4 separate regions of the Homo sapiens genome follow, and all the other regions are linked to region 4. Evidence: promoter capture Hi-C in 16 types of primary human blood cells and fetal thymus (Javierre and others, 2016). All regions are on one chromosome and are shown on one strand. The core of a region is centred on a gene start or on the middle of the fragment in contact, and the rest is flanking DNA. Distances in the headings are between cores, read along the strand shown. Region 1 overlaps DLEU1 (deleted in lymphocytic leukemia 1). Region 2 overlaps DLEU1 (deleted in lymphocytic leukemia 1). Region 3 has its middle 58 kb from the start of DLEU1-AS1. Region 4 holds the start of DLEU1 (deleted in lymphocytic leukemia 1).

Region 1 (2,807 bases), core at 18-2,517, 290 kb after region 4:
TCATAGTTCTGGAGGCTGGGAAGTCTGAGATCAAGATACCAGCAGATTCAGTGTCTAGTGAGGGCCCATTTCCTGGTCCACTGATGGTGCCTTCTGACTGTGTCCTCACATAGGGGAAGGGGCAAACTAGCTCTACGGGGTCTCTTTTATAAAGGTTCTAATCCCATTCATGAGGGCTCCTCCCTCATGGCTTCTCAAAAGTCACCACCTCCTAATACCATCAACTTGGAGGTTAGGATTTCAACATATGAGTTTTGAGGGGACACAAACATTCAGACCAGAGTAGCCCCTAACCCAATATGACTGGTGTCTTTATAAGAAGGTGGCTTTGTGAAGACAGAGACACATGAGGAGAATGCCACGTGACAACTAAGGCAGAGACTGGCATTAATGCAGTTACAAGCCAAAGAATGCCAGAAATTGCCAGTGAATCACCAGTAGCTAGGAGAGCAGCAAGGAAGGACACTCACCCGCAGGTTTAGGGGGGAACATGTCCCTGCTGACACCTCAATTTTACACCTCTAGCCTCCAGAATTGTGAGAGAATATGATTCTGTTTTAAGCTGCTCAATGTATGGTGCTTTGTTATGGTAGCCCTAGGAAAGGAATACAGTCAGGAACACTCTTGTCCATAGGCAACATGGGATGTAGCAATGTATGGCCAAATCTTTCTCCTCCCACCATACAGAACACATTCATTCAAAGAGTATAAATTGGCCCAAGCTTAATAGACATTCTCTTTTTTACTAGTGGGTCAACACAAGTATAGGCCAGGTTAGTTCTATAGATAAAACAGAATTTGAAATGTGTAATGTTAAAGCCAAAGGTCCAATGGCTATTTATTCCACATTCTATATAACTACCCTAACTCAAGCAGCCGCTCTAAAACCCCAGTGACTAGGACCCTGAAAAAGTGTTCTTTAAAGTGTCAGAACAGAGATTCAGACTCTCAGAATTTGCTGTTTCAGTTTGAGAAGATGAAGAGTTTGAAGATGAGAAGACTCAAATTTGAGTCCAGCACCCAGCTGCCAGTCTAGCAGCCCATTGTAGCCCCCAGAGAATGAAAATGGAATGCTTGGTCCAATCCCCATGGTGGGTGTCCTCCAGGAAGCTCTGGGGTTCCCAACTGGCCTCCAGCCATACCAGGGCCATATAGATTCCTTAAAATAAATATCTATTTGTGTGTTGCCTTTTGGTGGCTCTGATCATCTATAGCATCAAGTCTAAGCATGATGCTTGAATAAGCCTCCATGATTTATGCCCCCTCTGGGCTCTGGGCTCCTGTTGCATCACACTGTCCCTTTAGCTTTATATCTAGTTACACAAAATTACTTGTTGTTTCCACAATAAAGCCTTATGTGTCTTGTCTTTGTGACCTTAACTATCACTTAAATTGACAATGCCCTTTCCTTCTTTTCCTACTGAAACAACCCTAGTTAATCTTCAAAATATTCATAAGGGACACTTTCCTATGAAAGCCTTCTTTGACAACATCCTCCAGATAGACTTAATACCTTTTTTCTTTGTATAATTTTTTACCTGCTCCTTTACTGTGCATCTCAAACTATATTTAATAATTTGTTTATAATCATCTTTTAATTAAACTGTGAGATCCTTGAGGGCAGGAATTGTATTTTATTTATATAGGATGCCCAGTAGTAAGCATAGTGCCTATACCTGTACAGGTGATTAGTAACTGTTTAAATGAATTCTTCATTTAACAAATATTTCTTGAGACTTTTTATGTTGCAGGCATTGTTCTGGGCCTTGTAGATGTGGCAGTAGTCAAGAAAAACAAAGACCTTTCCTACCTGAAGCTTGTGTTCCGGTAGAGAAAATGGATAAACAGATAAAAATAATAGACATTGCATATACTTTCAAGTAATGATATGTGCTACGAAGAAGAAAAAAGGCAGTGTAGGAGGTTGTGGGTCGATGGGATTTCTCTTAGATTCACAAATCAAGAGGTGATCAAATGAAACTTAACCAAAAAAGACAATGACTTCTCTCTAACCAAACTTGATTACTGATAGTCTTTTTCCAAGTCAGCTTAATGTGCTGTTCAAGAGAATCAGTGTGGAAGGAAGGAAATGTGCAAGAGAGTCCTGTATCAGACACAGTGGGCAGGGAGCTTTACATCTCTCATCTTATTGGGCTTTGACAACACCCTTCAAGATAGGTGCTGTTGCAGATGAATGACAACCTGAACTTCAGGGAGGCCAAATAATGTGTCCATGTGGAGTGTCTGAGTGTGTAAGCCAAGGTTCAAACCCCGGCCATCCTGGGCCACTTGTCAACACCAGTTCTACAGTTGAATTCTATGAATACTTATCAGGTGCTGACTTCATGTCAAGCCCTGTTCTTCATGCTTAGCATACACCAGCAAATAGAATAGACAGAAATCCCTGCCATTTCAGAAAGTAACAAGTGTTGACAAGGATGTGGAGAAATTGAAACGCTTGTGCACTGTTGGTGGGAATGTAAAATGGCACAGGTACTATGGGAAACAGTATGGTAGATCCTCAGAAAATTAAAAATATAATTACCATATGATCCAATGATTCCATTTCTGGAAATATACCCAAAGGAATGGAAAGCAGGATCTTGAAGAGATATTTGTAGACTCATGTTCATAGCAGCATTAACCAAAAGGTAGAAGCAATGCAAGTACCCGTCAACAGGTGAATAGATAAATAAGATGTAGCCTATATGCATTTACCACACATGGAATATTATTAAGTCTTCAGAAGGAAGGAAATTATGACATATGCTATAACATGGCTGAACCTTGATGACATTATGTTAAGT
Region 2 (2,700 bases), core at 89-2,588, 410 kb after region 4:
ACTGAAACGACTACCATGCCTTGTGGTGAGTGCCCTCCTTTGGGGATTAGCAAGATGGTAGGGGATGTGCAGAAGACTGCAATGGGTCTCTTAACCCTTCCTTCCTTCAGTATATAATCCAGGTTATTTTAGAAATAGAACACCAGTGATGTGTTTGTGACAACTTCTACTGGTCCTGTAATCTAGTTAGAATTGGGTGGATGACCCCTTATAAATCCTAACTAGATTACAGGACCAGTAATGTGTCAGTCTTAATTAATTCATTGGTTTATTTATTCATTCATTCTTTCATTCATTTTTTTACTTGTTCATCCATTCATCAAAAGTATTTTTAGTACTTTACCTACTATTAGCTGGGCTTCAGTTAAATAATTTTGTATTTTTTTTTCCTTAATAGAACTTATGATCTGGTGGAAGGACATGATAACTAATCAAATAATCACAAATATGTATTTCAGAGGTAATTATTCTAAAGGAAAGTTATCTGACTTGGTTTTTCTGGGAAGTCTTGCCTAAATGAGATAATTTTTGAAGTGGGTGAGCTGGCCACTTAGGGCTTGGGAGAGGTTAACAGAATGAGGCCACAGGTAACTTCTTGGGCAGCATGTGCAAGGGCCTTGGGGACAGAGGGCTGTGGTACGTTTGATGGACTGTGAACAGAACAGTCAGGCTGTAGTATAGAGAGTGAGGGAAGAGAGTGGTGCAAAATAAAGCTGAAAATATGGGCATATGTCAGGTCATTCAGGACTTTGTAAGGCGTGTGAAGGGTTTGGGTTGTCAGTTGAAGGGTTAGGGAAACCACTGAAGAGATTTAAGTGGGGCACGGTTGTGGAGGGGGGTGGTGACTGTGTAATTTGTAAAGAACACAAAGATTGCAGGGTGGAGAACAGATTGGGAAGGCAGCAAGTATCAATGTAGGAAGACTGGTTAGAAGGTATAAGGAGGTTTTATTTTGTTTTTTTCCTTTGTAGATGGGAGAAACTTGAGTAAGTAAATGTCAGTGGGAAAGATCCAAGCAAGAGAGAAATGCTGAATGAAAAAAAGAAAAAAGAGCTAGTGAAAGCTTCCTGAAAGCCAGTGTAATGATTGGAGCAATTGGCCTTAGAAAGGAGAAGGGCTAATTTTATTCTACAGAAAGGAGAAAAAATGGGATGGGTGCAGATATAAGGGCCCATTTTTGTGGGAGTTCCTGTCTTGTGGCTTTTGTTTTCTGTGTAAAGTAGGAAGTGAGGTCATTTGTTAAGAGTGGAAGGAAAGGTGCAAGATAAAAAAGCAAGTCAGAGATCTGAGGAGACTGGAGAAAGTTTGAGAAATTCACTAGAGAGGTGGGAGAGAGAACTGACAGGTGCTTGTGGAAATCTTGCTGATATGTGTTGAGGACGTGCTGGTTTTGATGTTCATGACTTCACAACAGTGCAGATCCACTCTGTGTGTGGCTTTCATCAGCAATACTTCCGTATTTGGGTTTAGAAAGATTAAGGGAAAAAAGGAAAAAAAGACAGTTGGGTTCAGGCAACACTGGGATCTTGTTAGCAGCTGCTAATATAAAGACAGAAAGGAATGGAGTTTGGGGCCCTGGCAAATATGTTATTGAAATGACATATAATGAAATTCAAGCTTAGAAAGGGGGAATTTGAAAAAGAAGGCTGATAGATTGGAAGAGAGTAGAAGAGTCAATGGAAGGGGCCCTGAAGAAGTTGAAGAACACTTGTAATCTGAGGAGTCGAACTAGCTAGCTGGATAGAAAGGAGTTAGTAGGAAACTGATTTAGTGACTTGGGTGGTAGAGAGGTTTGGGGTGATGACAAGTTCCAGGGTAGTGTTGGGAGACAATTTTCCATGAATATTTTTACGTTTCTGCACAGTCTTGGCTTTCTGAGCAAAGAAAATTGGCAAAAATGGTTAAACAATAATTGAATAGCAAATATGCCTGAGAAGCTAGAAATAGTGTATTGTTCCAGACAGATTTAGAGAATTCGCTGCCATAGAGTCATTTGCATTACATTTCTGGGTAGCAAAAACCTAGGGACCTTTCCCTCACATCCTCAGAGAGGGTTTCTTACATTCCAGAGTGAAAGTCTCTCTCTCTTTCTTTCCAGAAGAAATGAGGGGCAAATGCACTAGCTGCCCTATGTAAGCTCTAAGTCTCATCATTTCGGGGATCCTCTCCTGTGATGCAGCTTTGCTAGAAAGAACTAATATTTGTATTTTTTTGCACCATCTGTTCTGCTGTATCGTGGTAGAAGTCATGTAGGTTCATATGAGATCTTTCTTCCAAGCACCTTAATGTTTTGAAGAGATAAAAGCAAGAAGCAAGCTTTCTTACAATTCATGAAAAAGCCCAATCAATATGCCTCAAGAAACAAAGCTGATGTATAATAAAAATTATTATCCCAGCACATGTTTTTGAATTCCTATAGACTTTAAATAGATTTTAAAGTTGAGATGAAACTGGTCTCTATTAGAAGCAAATGCCCTCAAAGACTTTCCTCTTGAAGAAGGAATTCTAAGTTCCAGTATTTAAAGCTGAAAAAGATCATCCGACTGTGATGCTGGGCAAATGCCACAGAAGATTTAACTCTGCTATTGTCTTGATTGTTTTCATTACACAGTTTTATAAGTTTTCTGGGCTGTATAGACTCTGTTTTTACTGATAAGTCCTATTATTGACAATGCCTGACTTTGCAGAGTTCTAGGTTTT
Region 3 (2,700 bases), core at 124-2,623, 500 kb after region 4:
GGTGCAAATAGAGAAGATGAGAGCAAGTGAATAGAGAGAAACAAAGGAAAGAGGCAGAAACAGTCTGGGATGGATAATGATTATGTCAGCTGTGAGAATGGAAATTTAGGCATCTCGTGCCTAATTTTCATTGTTTTCTGTGCTGTTTTGCATTGCAGTTGCTTGTCTGACTTCATAAAGCCTGTCTTAGTTCATTCCTGCTGCTATAACAAAATACCTTAAACTGTGAAATTTATAAATGATGGAAACTTATTTTTCACAATTCTGGTGGCTGGGAAGTCCAAGATCCAGGCATCTTCAGATTCTGTCTGATGAAGGATCACTTTTCACTTTCGAGGTGGTGCCTTGTCGCTGCATCCTCTGGAGGGAACAAATGCTGTGTCCTTACACAGAACATGGTGGAAGGGCAAGAGGGCCTGGCTAGGGCCCTTTATAAGGCACTAATCCCATCCATGAGGACAGAGCCCTCATGGCCTAATCACCTGTCAAAGGCCTTACCTCCTAATACTATCACGCTGCGTCTTAGGTTCCAACATATGAATTTGTGGGGGATACATACGTTCACACCATAGCAATCCCCAACCTTCAGTAAAAGTCTGTAGCTTTGGGGTAGATGGGTAGGATATTCAGTGTAAGGTCATGTAGTACAGAGAAGAGATGGCACATTCCAGAGGTAAGAAATAGACAAGAGAAAGGGAATTCAGAAGCAGGAATAAGAGCCAGAAGTGACACTAGGGAATTCAGGAGCAGGAATAAGAGCCAGAAGTGACAGTAAGAACCCAAGCTCCCCAACCTCTGAAATGCCAGAGATACTGCATAATAAGCTGAGCTTCCCAGAAGCCAATTTACTTATCCATGAACAAGGTGCCCCTAACCCGTTGGAACATGTAGGAACCCCAGTGGATGGTAAGTGTATGTACCCACTTAGAAGGAATGGAACAAAGCTAGCTTTCTGACAATGGACACACGTTTAGTCTGATAAACTGGGCTTGGGAGACAGGCAGAGGACAGGGACTTGGGACAGAGTGGTAGACAAGGAATGTGAGTGAGTCAAGGTGGGAAGGCTAAGGGAGCCCTTTGTGTGCCTCGGAGAACAAAGCTGGTGTCAGCTTTCGGCCTTTTTATGCTAATATTTTATGATTAAAAGTCTAATTCGTTCTTTGGGTTTTATGATTTATACTGCGTACTGTGTAAATCCAGGAAATCAGGCTAGGTTCTCCACGAGCCACATTTGCACAGCTTGATGAGGTTTCGCTTCCACACGGTGTGGCTATTTCTTAGTGGATTCTCTTCTACTTTTAGCCACAGAGCACTTCATCCTGCAGATGTCTTGAGTATGCATCAGCTGTGTCAGCAAAGATCCCTAAGACAGAATTGCTCCCCTGGGATGCCGAGCAGGGATTTACTTCTTTAAACCCCCTTTTATTTAAGTGCTGGCAACAGGGTTATAACAAGGAACATATTTCAAAACCATTTTCTCTGTCCCTATCTATTTCTGCAATCTTTATTTCAGCAAATAAAACCTAGGGTCCAAGTCCCATTTTTTCCCAGGATAATTTCGCCTCTCACACAAGAGTGTGTTTCTGAAATACTAAATCAAGGGGCTGTTGGGGCACCCTCAGAGCTCAGAGCAGCTTGAGTGTGAAGTAAACATTTTCTTTAAGGGGTCTTTCCACAGATATACCAGATGAAAAGTCCAGAGCACTGCGTTTTCCTTCACACAGACCTCAGGCTTTGTGACATCTGGAAAAAGTGGTTTGCTATTTGGACCTTCCAGCAAAACTCTCGTTCAATTGGATTCACATAAGACTGTGCTGTTCGCTTATAGTTTGGACAATAGCAACACCTCTCCTTTTACTTGGCAATGCTAGAAGCTATTTGGATAAAAATGAAAGCCCTTGAAAAAGCATTAGGGAAATTGTCACACTCCTGCTGTAAGGGTGTGAAAGGCTGTCGCTCAGTCTCCTGACCAGAGCTGAAAAGGTGTCTTAGCTCACCTGGATCATCTCAGCCCTCTGTACTGGGGTTTCGACTCCTGATTTTAAGAGCTGGCATCTTAAAGGTTTAGTCCTTGGGTACCAAGCAGGGGAGACACAGGCCCCACTTGAGCACAGAGAAGCCAGGCCAGCAGAGGAAGATAACCCATGGGGCAAACCCCCCTTTTGTTGGCCTTGCAGGACCTGAGTGAAACAGACCAATTATCCACCCCACTCACAATCCCAGTCCATGGGGCAGCACCTCCCTTCCCTTAGCCTAGGAAGAAATTTCCATGGGAGAGGATTTTGTTGTTCTGAGGGGCATTTGGATGAGAATACAAAGAGAATGGGAGGAAACGGGAGAGAAAAATCATCAAGATGAAAAATGAACAAGATTTATGAGGGCAACCCATCCCTCTCCCGCTGCTCAGTCCCGCTCCCCGAAATGTATTTTCCAGCTCCTCATACAGACTGACTTTAAATGAAGCAAGCTAGCAAGCTGCCATCACTTTCTTTGAGAGACTATCAACAGATTAATAGATCTTCCCAATATAGTAATTCTCCTCAAATCAAGCCTATATTTTCCATCACATCACTGAATTTATGTTTCCCTTGGAGTAGCCTAAGCCTTTGTTTATGCCTTTTGAATGTTCATTTCATATCCACCACTATTGTGTTTCCTTTTAGCAATGCAGTCGCTGGGCCAGGTTATATAGCTCTAAGT
Region 4 (2,832 bases), core at 241-2,740:
GCTCACATCACTCAAGAGCTGTGGAGTAAGAATTGATAGAAACCACCAGCTAAGGGGGAAAAAAAAAATCACCGAAGGGAAAGACAAATAACAACTCTCGTCCCTCCTCCTCAGCGTCAAGAAAAGGTGGGGATCGCAAAATTACCGTTAAGTTGTCCGGGTAAAGACTTTTGGGGGAGGAAAACATTAATAGTTTCACAGATTGCTTTTTTCCTTGCGACATGTTTCAAACACCGGAGAAGAAAAAAGTCTTCTAAGAAAGTGCGACTCGGAGGAAATAGCCACGAGAAGGAAATCGTTAGCTCGAAGCCCCATCTTTCATCTCACCCGTGAACACTCCTCCCCTTTGAGAAAGGACAACGCTGCGAGAGCAAATGACAAAAATCCCCAGAAAGAAGCTAAAGTCCAGCATCTTTCCTAAGAGCCCGCTACAACCTCAAAAGCCTGCCCCTGCCCCATCTTGGAAGCGCGAGCCGCGGCCAGTCCTACCTACCTAGAGACCTCACCGGGACCCAGCGCGCCGGGGGAGGGCAGCCAGGGCTTGGGAAACTCTTTCCTGGGGCACCTCACGCTTCAGCGTCAAAAGACAATATAGATAGATGGGTGCCGGGCGGTGGCGGGGGGGACTGTTGCCACGACCCACCGGAGGGACCCATGACTCCGGGTCCTGAATTTTCTGTCGACCTTAAGTTTCTTGTCACGAGATGACGGCCATCACCGGGTCGAGAAAACGGCGAGAAAAGGCGGCCCGGTTCGGAAATGGGGGAGGGGCGCGCGTCCAGTCCTCCTGTCAAGGAGCGGCCGCCTGCAGAGACCCCGCAGTGCGCCGTCCCCGGCTCCGGTCCCGGGCGGGGGGTCTTGCTGACAGATCCGCTGGGCGGCGGCTGCTCCGCCGCAGCCGGTCCGCGTCCCGCTCAAACTGCAGCTCCCCTCCCCCCACAGCCCCGTCTCTCCGCGCTCCCGCCACATTCCGCCCGCCGCCGCCCACTCGCAGACGCCCAAGTTGCCCCTAACCCTACTTCCTCGGATTTTTCGCGATTAAGTGAGAGTAGACCCCGCGCCCACTCCCTGCACCCACCACTGCCTGCGGGTCCCACCACTGCCACCTCCCGAGTCCCGCTCTGCTACTTCTTCAGGCTCTTACCGACTGCGCCAGCCTTGGCGAAGCTCCGCCGACTGCCCTTTGCTCCAAGTAATTTTTGGCGATTTTTAAAGTAATTTTTCCGGCGGAGTCATAGTGGCGCTATACTCTCGGACAGGTTATCCTGTCTCTCCCGCTAGATTGATGAGATCAGGCATCACTCGAAAATGGCGCCGAAAGCGCTGAGGCTCCTCATTCAAATTCGTTAGAGCCAACCCCGCCGCCCCAGGGAATGCCGGGAACGCGGGCTGCCTCCACAGCTGTCAATACCGCCTCTTAACCCCCCTTCTCTTGCTTTCCCGACATTTTTACGCATGCGCAAACTCCAACCCTCCCCCCTCCTCCCGCCAGGCACATGCGCAGAATCATCGTGGTGCACGGCTCTCCCTTTGCTTCTTCGGTTGCAGTCCTCTTGCTTCTTGCGCGTGCGTGTAGCGCTTTTGCAAAGCCGCGGAGGTGAAGTGAACTTAGAGGTTGTGGGGCCGAGGGGTCGTCTTATAGCTACCAGCCCACAGGCATTTAGTCTACGTTGGAGGTAAACAAATACGGGTCCTGCTTAGGAGAAAAGAAAAACGTCTTACAGCCAGTGTCTAAACTCCAAACAACGGAATGTATCAATGAGACCTTGTATATGGATACACGTGCATTTAAAACCGCCCTGCCGGCTTGTAGAGCTTTTGCCGTTCTCCAGCGCTTTACAGGGGTTATCGCACTTAAGCCTCGGAACAACTTTACCAGGTAGGAACTATTACTGTTCTCGTTTTGAAGACCAGGAAACCTAGGCTCAGAGACGTTAAGTAATTTGCCCAAGACAGCACAGGTGGCACAGAAGTGGATGAATCCACATCTGTCAGATTCAGCAGCCCTGGAGTTCTCTACCACGCTGTACGATTCAACCTGAGCCCACACAGGAGGCGTGGTCTCCTTCTTCAACGGTGTGTGTGTGTGTGCGCGCGCGCCTGCCTAGAGTTAATGATTAAGTTTGCTGAAGCCCTTCTTCCCGGTCCTAAGCTGCCTGTTGCGAAGGCGCTTTCATTGAATTCAGTTTCTCTTACCGTCTTAACTTGTTCATAAACTTTTTGAGATAGGAATGGGCAGTTTTTCTGTGTCACTTAGGATGATTTTTTTTTTTAATGGCGTGATAAGTGAACTGAATCCAGCAAAGACGAGTTTCTGTTGTGCAACACGTTGGTATACTGACAGCTACCACGTATTGACTGTGTACTGTGTGCTGGGCACTGTGCTAAATAAATGATTTACGAATTAATCGTGTTTATTGCTCACAACAGCCTTATGAAGTAGGTATTATCTTCACTTTACAGATGAGGACACCTGAGGTTCAGATTAAGAAATCTGCCCCAAAGTCTTAGAACTGGTAAGTAGAAGCACCATATCTAGGCAAACCTGTCTACCTTCAAAAAAAATGGGCACTCTGATAGGACAATTAACGATAATAAAGTTGTAATTTTTTTTTTTTTTTGAGACGGAGCCTCGCTCTGTCGCCAGGCTGGAGTGCAGTGGCGCGATCTCGGCTCACTGCAGCCTCCGCCTCCCGGGTTCAAGCAATTCTCCTGCCTCAGCCTCCCGAGTAGCTGGGACTACAGGCAAGTGCCACCACGCCCAGCTAATTTTTGTACTTTTAATAGAGACGGGGTTTCACCATGTTGGCCAGAAGGGTCTCGATCTCTTGA

Evidence for each region. The method cuts DNA at HindIII sites, captures the fragments that hold promoters and counts their contacts. A CHiCAGO score of 5 or more calls a contact.
Region 1: a contact is called between a fragment that was not itself captured here and the fragment with the promoter of DLEU1 in region 4, in 1 of 17 cell types (activated CD4 T cells). The highest score is 6.0, in activated CD4 T cells.
Region 2: a fragment that was not itself captured here is called in contact with the fragment with the promoter of DLEU1 in region 4 in 1 of 17 cell types (fetal thymus); the score reaches 6.0 in fetal thymus.
Region 3: a fragment that was not itself captured here is called in contact with the fragment with the promoter of DLEU1 in region 4 in 1 of 17 cell types (naive B cells); the score reaches 5.1 in naive B cells.

Annotation. Positions count from the first base shown.
Region 1 is chr13:50,367,572-50,370,378 of GRCh38, forward strand. All of the region lies in intron 2 of DLEU1 (deleted in lymphocytic leukemia 1), which reads left to right. Among named protein-coding and RNA genes, the nearest start is that of DLEU1-AS1, 160 kb to the right of the region's middle. The HindIII fragment of the contact is 1,094 bases long and covers 721-1,814 here.
Region 2 is chr13:50,493,075-50,495,774 of GRCh38, forward strand. The region is part of intron 5 of DLEU1 (deleted in lymphocytic leukemia 1); the gene reads left to right. Among named protein-coding and RNA genes, the nearest start is that of DLEU1-AS1, 33 kb to the right of the region's middle. The HindIII fragment of the contact is 554 bases long and covers 1,062-1,615 here.
Region 3 is chr13:50,584,027-50,586,726 of GRCh38, forward strand. No RefSeq gene overlaps it. Among named protein-coding and RNA genes, the nearest start is that of DLEU1-AS1, 58 kb to the left of the region's middle. The HindIII fragment of the contact is 7,498 bases long and covers 1-2,700 here.
Region 4 is chr13:50,080,679-50,083,510 of GRCh38, forward strand. DLEU1 (deleted in lymphocytic leukemia 1) reads left to right here and starts at 1,491. Exons shown (of 7, transcript NR_109974.1): 1 at 1,491-1,879; 2 at 2,464-2,516. The region is part of intron 1 of DLEU2 (deleted in lymphocytic leukemia 2); the gene reads right to left. RefSeq lists enhancers at 1-2, 1,620-2,415 and silencers at 635-929, 793-1,012, 1,413-1,462. The HindIII fragment of the contact is 5,734 bases long and covers 1-2,832 here.